2 separate regions of the Homo sapiens genome follow, and region 2 is linked to region 1. Evidence: promoter capture Hi-C in 16 types of primary human blood cells and fetal thymus (Javierre and others, 2016). All regions are on one chromosome and are shown on one strand. Each heading gives the region's core, a stretch centred on a gene start or on the middle of the fragment in contact. The rest is flanking DNA. Distances are from core to core; before and after follow the strand shown.

Region 1 (7,445 bases), core at 2,298-4,797:
GATGTCCTTTATGTATTTCTCTAGTAGGACTTAATAATTTTCATATGATTCATAGGAACTCTTCATTATGTTTATGACTATTAACCCTTTGCCATCCATATTTATTGTAGGTTTTATCCTCTGTTTTTGGTTTTGAAAATGTAGAGTGTGTCTTTAACTCTGTGATTTCTTAATTTTTGTGTTGTCATGTGTGTTATTTCTTTTGGTCTTATACCACTCTAATCCTAGCCATTCCCTGTCCAGTAATTGATATTTAATATATTTTCTTCAGTTAGTCTGTAGTCTGAGGTAAAAATCTAAACTGTTTCCAAATTGCTAAAGGTTTTCTTAGCTGTTCTTAAGGTGAACATTATGGTAATTATATTAGGTTCCAGATCCAGTTTGAGTTTTGATTAGAATTGTGATAAAAGTTAATTTGGGAAGAACTGACGTTTTTGTGATATTCAGTCTTACTATCCAAAGGCTTATGTTATGTTTGTTTTTTATTTTTACATAGGTCATACACATTTCTTATTAGAGGTTTTATAAATGTTTTGATTTCTTATTTTTACTCTGAGAGCCTTTCACATATATTTTGATCATTATTAGTGCCTATAAATGGTTATTGGTTTTTGTGTATTTATCTGATAACTGGTCAGTTCATCAAACTTATTAAATTGAATTGTTTTCCAGTTGATTCTCTTGGGTTTTCTATATGTAAAAAACATTTCCCAATACTTATGCCTCTTAGTTGTGTTTCAATCGTTTTTGCTTTTTACTGGAACCAGAAAAATAGTAAAATGATAGTCTCTCTCATTCCTGGATATAAGAAATCAATATTAAATTTTATTAGATTTTTTCTCTATTAAGATAATCATATGATTAAGATAATCAGAACTTTGTATGTAACGTATTATTCTGATTTTCTCTTTTGGTTGGCCTGAGCATAATGAAGATTAACTTTACCTTAAGGTTGTTTGTACTCAACAATCTGTTGTGATTAGCAACAGGTCAGTGCTGCCTTCCATTCCCTAGGATAAAGCAATATAATTTTGCTTCTTTGTAATTTTAACCCTTCAGGGAAAAGGAAGCAAATGGCATCTGATTTTTTAATTTTTCTGGAGTCCAGTTTTTAAAAAAAACTTTCTGCTTCATTCAGAATGAAGCAAACATAAAGTTGAAATAGCCTTTTTTATCCTTTCTGGGAGATGATAAAAACCTGATATTATATTGAGGAAACCAAAACAAGATAGTTTATTTAATTTCCTGCATTTCTGAATTAAAGGCCACATTCTTCTCTCATAATAAGGAATCAAAAACATAGGGAGGGATGTAGTGATGTCTCTTTCTCCCATTTTGTAACAGGAGAGGAGGATTGAATTTCCAATCACTGTCTTTATCTTTCATGTAATAATAATAGCTAAGAATTATTCAGCACTTACCATGGTTTGGATGCTATTCTATAGGATTTATATGTATTAATCCATTTGCTCTTCATAGTAACCCATGAGGAAGGGACTATTCCTATTCCCTTTTGTAGATGAGGAGAAACTGGCCACTGAGAGTATTAGCTGAGTTGCCTAAGGTACATTACTAATAGGAGGCAGAGCTGGGATTTGAATGCAGGCAGTCACAGTACCGAGTCTTTTATATATATTTTTTGAAAATACTGTTTTATTAACACCACAGTGATAAACAACTTTAAGCTTATGTTTCTTTATAGATCACTGGCTCACACATAATTCAAAACCCACACAGAAGCTAAGAGTCTTTACATTAAATATATTCTTCCTAAAAATCCTTACTGTATGCATCTGTCCTCAAGCAGTAAAATTTGATTATGCACCATTTTATAATTAATATGTCACATTTACATAGCAAAATAATGAAGGCACAGCTAATACAAGCAAACTTAAACCCTTTCTACTTCTGAGCTGGGGGTAGGGGCACACACTTGGATTGGTTCTTCAAGTATATATTTTTTCCAAACATTAGCTTCAGTGAAGAGTTCTGATGATTTTCACAGCTACACCCTAAAAGCTACATGACAGAAAGACGTCACAAGGCGCAAAGTACATAACGCTGGATACACATGCTTTACATAATTTGCTACATTCTACATCTCTTCAAGTAAATTAATATTTCTAAAACGCTAGGTAAAGTGATTTAATACTTAAACATATTTGGGGTATTTTTTACGTGTTTGTAAATAGACAGTACTAAGAAAACACAAACATGAGATTGTAACTAATGAATACATATGTTGACAGTATTTTACAGGTTTTACACCCTCCTTCTTGGAACCATGTTGTTTCTCTAAATTCAAATACTCAAAACATTTTTCAGAACTTGAAATGGCAGTTTTCCTGGCCTTATTAACAGTAGTGTCATGATCTCCATTGCAATCTTCCTCAATGCCATCAATCTCCTGTGAAGTGTAAAGCTGATGTCTGCGTTACAAAAGCAAAGTCTCAAAGATGACGTTTTTCTTGGGTTCTGCCTTCTCTGCACTGCGAAATGTCATGAGTAAAGAAATTTAAGAATTAAGCACTGAGAACGTGTTCAGTCATGGCTTGGGTGTTCCATGTGTAGCGTATGCTGTGTGATGAATGGGTTTCAAAGTGACGTTCTTTACTTCGCATCTGCTAACACCCTTTGTAAACCTCAATCCTCAGAGAAGAGACCATGAAAACATAATTTTGGGTTTAATTCAGTTTTCTTTAACACCTTTTGATATATTTATTATGTTCAAAATGAAAGTCAAATTTGAATCGAGCTGGCCAGGATCTAATTGCTTTAATTTAATCTATTTTAGGAATGTCAGAATAAATTCACATTGTATTTTGGTCAAAAACCTGAGCCTTTTTAAGTCCATCGATATTCTGGGAAAAACAAAACCAGGCTTTTTTCTTCGTGGGCTTTCTCTTCATCCATCTCTGCCCCCCTTACTTCTTGGCGTCATCAGGCATCTCGGCGTGGGCATCGTCATGTTTGGCCCCCGCGGCAGCCTCTGCCGCAGCCTCCTCCTCCTCCTCGTCTTCCCCCTCCTCCTCGTCATCCTCGTACTCCTCTTCCTCCTCCTCCTCCCCCTCCAAGGTCCATGCACACCCCTCCATCTCGCCGGTGAGCTCTTGGATCTTGGCGAGTAGGGGCTTATAGATGTCATTATACTTTTTTTCCAGAGCCTGAAATTCCTTATCAAATTTGGCTTCTATCTTATCGCATCGCTTCTGCAGCTTTTTGAGGGCCAGGACTCGGCATTTCACCGAATTAGGCAGGCTCTCGATAAAGTCATTTTTCGGCTTTGGGGCATTCTCTGCAGGGGTCTGGGGCTCCTCAGCCATCTGACCAGCCGCGCTGTCAGGGTCACCAGCCGCGCTGTCACAGTCTCCACCCTGCGCACCGCCTTCCGCCATTACCTCCTCTGCCGCTGCCTCCGCCGCTGCCGCCGCCTGGCTAGGCTCCGCAGGCCCCTGGTTTTCCGAGTCGGCCATGTTAGAGGAGAAGCCGCAGAGGTCTAGGAGGGCTCCCGCAGAGGCCCTGCACCCGAGCTGGTCCAGAGAGATCTTGCGGATGCGGCAAGTGGCGGTGACGTGCGGCCGCGGGAATGACGTTGGCCGCGGCCCCGCCTCCTGCTTTCGCGGCACTTGACTGGCTTCCCACTATCAGCTGACGGCCGTGTGCTCATACTGCACCAGATTCCTCCTGTTGCTACCCTGACATCTTCTGGGCCCTCAACACCCGCCTGTTGGACAGACACCCTGTTCCCAGCCCACCCATGTACCCACCCCTGTAGAGCTGGGCTGGGAGTGTCAGTAGCTGCCCGAGGTGCTTCTTCAGGAACTGCATAGATGGCCTCAGACCATTTTCCGTGTGCTCCTCACCCCCATCCAGGCCCTTCTACAAATGCCAGTGCATATGTCTTCGCTTTCCTCTGCATCTCTCTCCATAGCTGGCGTTTGATCACCTCTTAGATTCCTCCGCATTCCTCTCCATGCAGTGGAGGAACGGGCAAGCTGGCTCCATTCCACCCCTTTGGGGACCTGGGGTGCATGTGTGTGGATAGGGCAGCTTGCATATCCAAGCTCTGTACCTATGTGTCCACCCAACACCCCCTTGGCCATCCCACACACCTAGCGGCATATATCTTGGTGGCAAGGTCGTCTCTCAGCAGGACTCCCCTGGAAGCAGTTTTGGAGCCATTTGGGTAGGAAATCTCAGAGCTCCCGGTGTCCTGGTGTGTGTTCTAGAAGATCCTACAGAATCTTTGGCCTGTGGGAAGGACTAAAGCTTGAGGAGGGCTGAAAAAAAGCAAGTCTTTCTAAAGCATGGGGCCCAGGGCCAAGGCCCCCTCTTATCTTGGTTAAAGCATGTGCCATCTATCCCACCCCGCTCACATTCGTCTTCCCTGCCTTCCCCCAACACCGTCTGCTTCCCTGCCTTCCCCACTATCTGTTTTCACACCTTTCCACACCACATCTTCTCCCTCCCTCCTGCCCCTCCCCCGCACTGACTTATGCCCCACCTTCTGCCCATCTTCTTCCCCGCCTTCTTCCCCACTCACTGCCTCCTTCCTCACCTTCCCCCCGCCGCACTGTCCTTTTCCCCACCTTCCTCACCCTCTTCTTCCCCACCCTCCTTACCCTCTTCTTCCCCACCTTCCTCACCCTCCTCACCCCCTTCTTCCTCACCCACTGCCTTCTTCCTCACCTTCCCCCCACCGAACTTTTTCCTCACGCTCCTCACCCTCTTCTTCCTCACCCTCTTCACCCTCTTCTTCCTCACGCTCCTCACCCTCTTCTTCCTCACCCTCTTCACCCTCTTCTTCCTCACGCTCCTCACCCTCTTCTTCCTCACCCTCTTCACCCTCTTCTTCCTCACGCTCCTCACCCTCTTCTTCCTCACCCTCTTCACCCTCTTCTTCCTCACGCTCCTCACCCTCTTCTTCCTCACCCTCTTCACCCTCTTCTTCCCCACCCCCTAGCCCCACCCTCTTCCCACCCACCCCCAGCCCCGCCTTCTTCTTCCCCACCCACCCACCCAGCCCCACCCTCTTCCTCCCCACCCACCCACGCAGCCCCACCCTCTTCTTCCCCACCCTGCCCACCATCTTCTTCCCCACGATCTGTCTTCTTCCCCACCTTCCCCCACGGTCTTCACCACCTTCCCCCAACCGTCTTCTTTACCCTGCTCACCATCTTCTTACTGGCTCACCATCTTCTCTGCCTTCTTTCTCACTCCCATATATCATCTCTTTTGATGGCTACAGCTGCCTTGAGATTAGGAATGATGTTTCTCATTTTACAGATAGTAAACTTAGAAGCAAATACAGTGAAATCATCTTACTGCATGTATCACTTAATTGGCAGATGCAGGGGCAGAAAACAGGCCTTTTGACCCCTATAGTATGGATGTTGTGACAGACTTTAAAAAAAAAATCCCACATTTTGGTTAAATTCATTTGACTAACTTAACTTGCTTAAAATATTTAGGGCATGTTCATCTTTCAAGATTTTTATTTTCCTGTCTCAACAGATCTTAAAACTTAGTGTTAAACCAGACTGTTTTTTAAAAAGTCTGGCTTATTGAGGTATCATTTACATAACAGTAAAATTTGTCCTTTTGGGCGTGCTTTCACAAGCAAATACAGTAATGTAAGCACTGTAGTAATCAAGATATAGAACAGTAAATAGTCCCCTAAAAGTCCGTTGTGGCCCTTCCCCAGCATCCAGCCCTGGTGAGCACTGTGCTGTTCTCTGTCTCAGTACCTCTGTTTTTTCCAGAATGTCAGGTAAATTGAATCATATGAATGTAGCCATTTGAGCCTGGCTTTTTTTTTTTACTAGCAGAGTACATTTGAGATTGATTTATGTTGTTGTATATATTAGTAAATTTATTTTTTATTATTTTTTATTTTACTTTTTATTATTGGGTAGTATTCCCATTTGTGGTGTTTGCAGTTTTTCATAATTGTGAATAATGCTGTGATCATTCATCTACAGGTTTCTCTATGAGCATGGACTTTTATTTCTCTTGGGTAGACACCTAGCAGTGGGATTGCTGGGTCATACAGTAAATGTACGCTTAACTTCATAAGAAGCTGCCACACTGTTTCCCAAAGTGGCTTTAATCTGTTTAGTGTTGCTAAAAAGGAAGACCGGAGGCTGCTAGCTAAAAGGTTCAAGATTGGGCATGTAGATGGTGAGAGTCTCAGGCTGCTTCCTGAGACTGTTGAGCTATTTCTACCAATAGTCCCTTAAGTGAAATCTAGGTTTTTCTATCAAGCTCCTCAAAACTCTTTCAGGCTCTACCTATTTCCTCATTTCAAAGGCACATCTGCGTTTTTAGGTATTTGCTGTTGTAGTACTGTACTTCTTAGTACCGAAATCTATATGTCAGTGTTCTCCAGAGAAACAGAACCAACAGGGTGTGAAGCCGAGGGGGGTGGGGGCAAGGAGGGATTTATTTTAAAGAATTGGTTCATGTGATTGTGGGGGCTGTCAAACCCGAAATCTGCAGGGTAGGCTGTAAGGCTAGAAATTCTGGCAATAGTTAATATTTAAATCTTGAGTCCAAAGACAGTCTGGAGGGAGAATTCTTTCCTCTTTGGAGGACCTCAAGTCTTTTTCTCTTAAGGCCTTCAGCTGATTGGATATGGCCTACCCACATTATGGAGGGTAACCTGCTTTACTCAAAGTCAATGAATTTAAATGTTCATCCCAACTAAAAAAATATCTTAACAACATCCAGACTGGTGTTTGACCAAACAACTGGATGCCATAGCCTAGCCAAGTTGACCTATAAAATTAACCATCACAGTCTGTAATAAAAATTGTTGTGATGGTGTTTCTCTTGGGTAATTGTATCAGAAAAATGTCATTAGTTTAGTGTCATGGGTTTCAGAGAAGTGAGGTGTTATATACGGTGTGAGAAACTTTCAGCATCAATGATTAACATGCACAATAATCTTTTTACATTAGTGGCTTTATTTTAAAGATTGCACAGTTATACCATTTTAAAAATGGGAAAAGGGAGGCTTACTAGTTAGATACAGAAGATGGCAGAGCCTGGATTTGAACCCCTGTCTGCCTCACTTATCCACTGTATTACACCATTTGTTGGCTAGTTATTGGTGTGGATGGTGAACATGTAAAAACTATCTGCTTGGAGGAAACCCAATAATTCAAATGTAGCTTTATGAAGTATTAAATTACAGTGATGGATAAGTAGTAAATAACTATCTTCATGATGTGAAGTTTTAAAATTGTTTTTAATCTAAAATACAAAAAGTTAATGTGACAAACATTTGTATATATGATCCACAGTCAACAGGTATTTGCTTCAGATTTTTTAATAAAAGAAAAAAATTACTGATACCGCTGTACATACCCTTAATTCCAAATTACTGATACTGTTGTACATACCCTTAATTCCATTCCCCTCTTCCCGCCCTTCTTTCTTACACA
Region 2 (5,880 bases), core at 1-2,500, 420 kb before region 1:
GGAATGTGATAGTTTTACATACCATCAGCAGACAGGCGGGCATGACTCGAAAAGGCTTTATCTATTTCTAGAAAAGCCAAGGTCAACAGAGTTTCCAAGTTCTTCTCCTTAGGAAGCAAATCCCTTTGTGGGGAGGAAAAAAAGAGCCTTAAACAATCATTTTACAATAGGTTTTTCTCCTCACTGTTACTCTAGCTAGCAGTCATTCCACACAACGGGCCTCAGGATTTTCCTGTCAAATGCTGAAGACCTACTGGCTAAGGAATACCTATTGAGAATCCACAAAGTATCAGGCACTGTGATAAGCTTTTAAGGGCACAACAATGAAAGTCCAAGTCCTTGTCCTTGAAGAATTGATCCTCACTACCACAACCCTGAGAGGTCGAGAGTTCCTTCCCATTGTGAGTTCTTTCGTGGAATGCGGTATACACAGGAAGTCAAGAAATGGTCACTGGGAAGTCAAAAATAGTCACATGGTCGTAACTCCATCACATGTTCTCCCTCTTTCAATTTTAGCAGTAATGTGATCCTCAAAAATGCATTAATACTAGTTGAAGTAAATAAACGGAAGAGCTCCAAAATGCCTGCATTAAATGCATTTTTCCACACTAATGCCAATCATCCAAAGCTATTTTCAACAAGTCAGGTATTCAAAGCTATTCACACCACTTGAAAGAGTAATTACCATTTACTGAAGCACTTATCTGTCCTACACTGATGGGAGTAAATGCTTCTCATAGGTTATCTCATGTACATTATGCCACTTCACTTAAAATGATCACAAATTAAGTGCTATAGATTTTGGTTAATGCTTTCCCCAGGGGAGTTGTTAAAACATGCATTTCTGAAATTGTGATAACCATAAGTAATAAATGGCACACTTAAACTACTGCTCATTCGTGAAGCAGCAGCATGCAACCACTCAAGTAACTATGTTTACGCTGGAAGCCTCAGCCAAAGGGTGAAAGTTTAAGTAGGAAGTATAGGAACTGCAAAGTCAGGAGTGAAAGTCATTGTACATACATAATACATTTCTCCATGTGGGTATGACAGAAATCAGCTGCTGCAGGTCCACCGTGTCCATCATACACTGCAAAGTACAGGACCTCATCTGTCAGCTGAGCGAAGTCAAACCGATCTTCATTCTCTTTCCGTTTGCCAATCTGTGAGGCGCACCCCACATTTTCCAAGCTGATTTTGGGAATTGGCTTGCCATACTTAATGCTGGGTGGCAGCAGAATTGGCTCATCAATGCGGTTATCCCAGATCCCAAAATTGTCCCAGGTAGCTGGACTCCCACTACCATCTGGGTCAAACCGAGAACACCTAGGCTCTGAAGTGGAGCTGTGGCACGTGGGTGTCACCCGCCTGTCGTCCTGCAGCAGGCGGGAGCTTAGCAGCACTCTCCTTCTCACCTGGTTCCCACCACTTCTGACCAAAGTAATTAAGGCAGCTGTTGACATAACTCAGCTCCAAAGGACTCAGTGATGAGGGAAAGGTCAATGGAACAATAATGGAATGTCTTCAAGAAAAATGATGCAAGTCACAGGGGACAGAGGGAGAGAGGGGCAGAGGAGGAGAGGGAGAGAGACAGAGAGAGAGAGACCATCAGAAATTTTGAATATAACTGATATGTCATCAAATATTACCAAAAATGAAGCTCATAAAGGATTTGACAGAAAATACATATATTTATGTTATATATTGGGTAGGCATCCAGTAGCCTGCTTCTAAGAACAGTGGATCAAAAATGAATCGATTTTCCTACCGCATTCACAGCATTTAAATTCTATAAAAATTTAACAGTGTGCACATACACAGAACATGTATCTCTTAAACTTGAACCTGCAATCACTTGTTAAAATGCATGTTCTGACCCAGTGGCTATGGGGTGGAGTCACTCTGCATTTCTAACCAACACCCTGGTGATACAGAAGCTGCTGGTCCCCAAGTTACACTTCTAGTAGCAAGAACACAGAATACAGGTATAAATAAATATACTTCCCTTCATTAACTCTATTGCTTTAAAGAAAAGGTAGGGATAAATATTAACAATAGCAACAAAGTCTCTTCAGGAAAAAATAACAGGCTAATAGAATACTTAAAATAGTTCTGTTTCCAAAGAATGGCCAAGTTTTAACAAAAACATAATCTAGGATAAATCTAAGTTTTATTTTAACATTTCTTAACCTACTAAGCTTTACATACTATATTACTATGGTAAATATAAATTGGTGTGCAAACACCCCAGAGGCACAAAGATAAGCCAGTTTTGATGCTCCCCATCCTAGCAGACTCTCTCACTAGGAGGGTATGTGGGTATGATCTCAGGAACCTGGCAGCACTGCATTTGTGACAAGCAGCCCTGATTTCTGAACGAGTGATCTATATATTTACATTCACAGCTGCAGCTCTCCTTTCCCCAACCCTAACAACCCAACGACACTTGAGACTACACTTCTTTGAAACGATTACTTTACACCCCCATTTCTGGACTCCACCCTGAAACTCAATCCTAAAACCTCTCTTGGCATTACAGGGTGTTACCCAGGGGAACTCCTACCCCACTGCAGGTAGAGCTGTTTCTGGGAATTTTCCACACAAATAAAAAATTTGTCTCCATAGGATTTTGTTCTATTACTTTATTCTTTTAAAATCAACTTGAAAAGATGGCAGAATACTAAGGTTTGATGATGTTGGTGGATGGTCTACAGATAGTATATTATTCTCAATCTTATGTTTAAATTATTTCACAATAAAAAATGAACTTGAAAAAATGTATCTTTCCAAAAGGTATAAACATACACAAATGAAACCCAGCTTGAGTGCAGTTATGAGAAAATGCACTACAGATTTCAAACAATTACTTTCCAATGAATTTTTGGAAATCAGTCTAGCTATGTATAGGGAAGGCCATTACTTCTTTCGGTGGGTAAAACAGTCAAAAGAAAGAATGAGGTTCCAAAGAACATCCTTAGGTGTTTATTTGTTTTAATTTCTTGTAGATATGGGTTCTCACTTTGTTGCCCAGTCTGCTCTTGAACTCCTGGCTTCAAGTGATCCTCCCACCTCAGCCTCCCAAAGTATTGGAATTACAGGCATGCGCCACAGAGACTGGCCTCAATCTTTAGATATTTAAGCAATTAAAAAAAATATGAGCTCTGCTGTCACAGAATTTAGAATAAAGATGGCCACCAAAACAAGTAATGTATCATCAAAGACTTAGGAAGTCATCCCTTCTTGGCCTTTTGGCCAAGATCCTGCATAGAAGGCTGAAATTCATTTCTTCGTAAGACAACATTGTTGGGGGGTTGGAGAGTGGCAGAGACACAGCATCTCTGGTTATCAAAGAGAATTAACATGGCCGGACCCGGTGGCTCACACTTGTAATCCCAGCACTTTGAGAGGCCGAGGTAGGCAAATCACTTGAGGCCAAGAGTTGGAGACCAGTGGGCAACTTTGCAAAACCCTGTCTCCACTAAAAATACAAAAATTAGTCAGGCGTGGTTCCGCATGCCTGTAGTTCCAGCTACTAAGGGGGCTGAGGTGGGAGGACTGCTTGAGCCCAGGAGTTTGAGACTACCCTGGGCAACATGGTGAAACCCTGTCTCTACAAAAAGTACAAAAATGAGGTGGACAGATTGCTTGAGCCTGGGAGGCAGAGGCTGCAGTGAGCTAAGATCACACCACTGCACTCCAGCCTGAGCAATGGAGCAAGACATTGTCTATTTAAAAAAAGAGAGAGAGAGCGAGAGAGAGAAATAACACATTCCATTGCAAGAGATGTTTGTTCTTTTGCTTCTAATTGAGAGTTAGATTTTATTCAGCAACAATTATGGATTCAAGCCAGCAATGGTGTGTTAAAAAAAATTTAAAAACCCAATTATGTTAATTATAGGTGATGAATTGAGACTTCAAACTACAATACAATCTACCAGGTAATGGAAGTACTAATTATTTGGAGATAATTCCCAAAGCAGCTTTATATCATATAGAAAAAAAAAAGAACTTTAAAGAAATACAATTATTAGAAAATATTTGTATTTGAAGAGTTAACTTGAGATTAGCAAAATACTATTCTTTTGGCTTCGGTCTGAAAGTATATATGCCATATTCAGCCTTGAGCTACTTTGCAGTCATGCACCTACTTTAAATCAGAGTTCTGGAATTACAAATAAATAAATATTGAAGTTTTTCTGCAACTGTTCTAGTATATTCTTGCCGTTTTATCTCCTCTTTATCCTCCCCCCAATTTTTTTTTAAATAATAAAATAGAACTGCATTCTCACAGAGAACAAATATCCACTGGAAACATTTTTAAGAAATGAGATAAAATGCAAATTGAGCAGTTTCTGTAAGGCTAAAAACCTGCGTATTTTAAAATCAATCATCAACCTGGCATCCTTCCTCGTGTATTGTTTCTATAATCATCTCAGAAAGCAGGCAGTCATAGGAAACCACCTACTTTAAGGCATATTATTGGCAGAGATGAAATGTGACCCAGATATATAGCTAGTTTATAAAAAACAAACAAACAGGTCGGCATCGCTTAGGTAAACGAGATGTTACGAACTGGCTCCATGTCCTTTTCCATCTGCAATGTAACTAAATCATATCAATCCCCTCCATATTCCCTAAGAAACAATTCAAAGGCAGCTGGAGTTCCCAAAGTAAATAACAACTTTGAATTAAACCTGCACATTAAGAAAAGTTTCCTCCTCCAGAACTCCACAATTGGGATCTGCCATCATAGACCCCACAGCTCTGCCGATGCCCATGGGAATGACTATGCTTTGACCAGCAAGGCAAGGGGAGTAGAACTTGTGATGTGAAAAACAAAAACCTTAAGGAAAAAAAAAAAGCAATCAGTGTTCTCTAAACAAAAAGAGTGGAGAACAAACTAGCAAACACCTAAGGATTGTCTTTTGTCAGTTCAGCAATTAAAAATTGGGATGAGTTCATTATTCCACAAACTAAGAGAGAGAAGGAATCTTTTTAAGTAAGCAGGGGAGATTTAGGTCAATTTTTTGATCGGAAAACATGGCTAGTTTATTTTTATAAACCATTTTAACATTATATTCAATCTTTGGAAGTCAAGTCATCCAAAAGGAAAGCACTTTCTCTGGCAGGAAGGTGCACTGGATTTGAGTTAAACTGTTCTTGTATGTTAAAAGCAGGTCAAAAGGGCAGTTTAAGCACATGCCAAAATTATTCAGGAGTTCTAAAGTTCTGAAACCTGCTTAGATTTTATCCCTCTAGAAAAAATATTTTAAGAAAGCATTCCTATCTGCCCATTATGAAGTGGCATTTAGGTATCTACAACTTCCACAATGAGAACACAGCCCTTTTAAATATTCTTAAACCAAATATTTACCTATCGACCTTTTTAGAAAATCAATTAAGGCATCCCAGTAAATTCAAATAGTATGGAAATTTCCAGAATGTATTTCAGCTAATTGGGACCCCAATACCTTCTTTCTCAATACCCTGCTAGGAGGAAGGGAAAGAAAATTTACTGCTTTACCTGAGGGGAAAAAAGAAAACAACAATAAAAACTCCAAAGGACTCCCCTTAGGTTTAATGTGAATATGTCTATGTTCAGATGTGTGACTGGAGAAAAGTGTGAAATGTGAGCAGTGAAAAGTACTCAGTATTCTATTCCCATAGATATCTTTTAAGACACGTTAGTAAATATGCATACAAGCCACAGACTATATCCCAAACCTGTAACTTTATAATGCCTTTAAGAACTTTCCTTCACAGTCTATTATGTCACCAGCCACTCTCCTCTCTTCTTTCCTCGTCTCTAAGGATTGCAGTCAAGGAATTTGCCTGGGTGATCAGTAGTAATGACTAAGGTTGCAAGAAAAAATTATTAGC

The links. Contacts are between HindIII fragments. The CHiCAGO score rates a contact against its expected background, and 5 or more counts as called.
Region 2: a fragment that was not itself captured here is called in contact with the fragment with the promoter of NAP1L5 in region 1 in 1 of 17 cell types (total CD8 T cells); the score reaches 6.8 in total CD8 T cells.

Annotation. Positions count from the first base shown.
Region 1 is chr4:88,694,282-88,701,726 of GRCh38, forward strand. It overlaps NAP1L5 (nucleosome assembly protein 1 like 5), which reads right to left and starts at 3,548. Exons shown (of 1, transcript NM_153757.4): 1 at 1,632-3,548. The coding sequence starts at 3,473. The coding sequence ends at 2,925. The region is part of intron 23 of HERC3 (HECT and RLD domain containing E3 ubiquitin protein ligase 3); the gene reads left to right. RefSeq lists an enhancer at 3,638-3,697. The HindIII fragment of the contact is 2,584 bases long and covers 1,684-4,267 here.
Region 2 is chr4:88,277,121-88,283,000 of GRCh38, forward strand. PPM1K (protein phosphatase, Mg2+/Mn2+ dependent 1K) reads right to left here. Exons shown (of 7, transcript NM_152542.5): 2 at 1,024-1,522; 3 at 23-123. The coding sequence starts at 1,463. Among named protein-coding and RNA genes, the nearest start is that of PPM1K, 4.5 kb to the right of the region's middle. The HindIII fragment of the contact is 1,892 bases long and covers 305-2,196 here.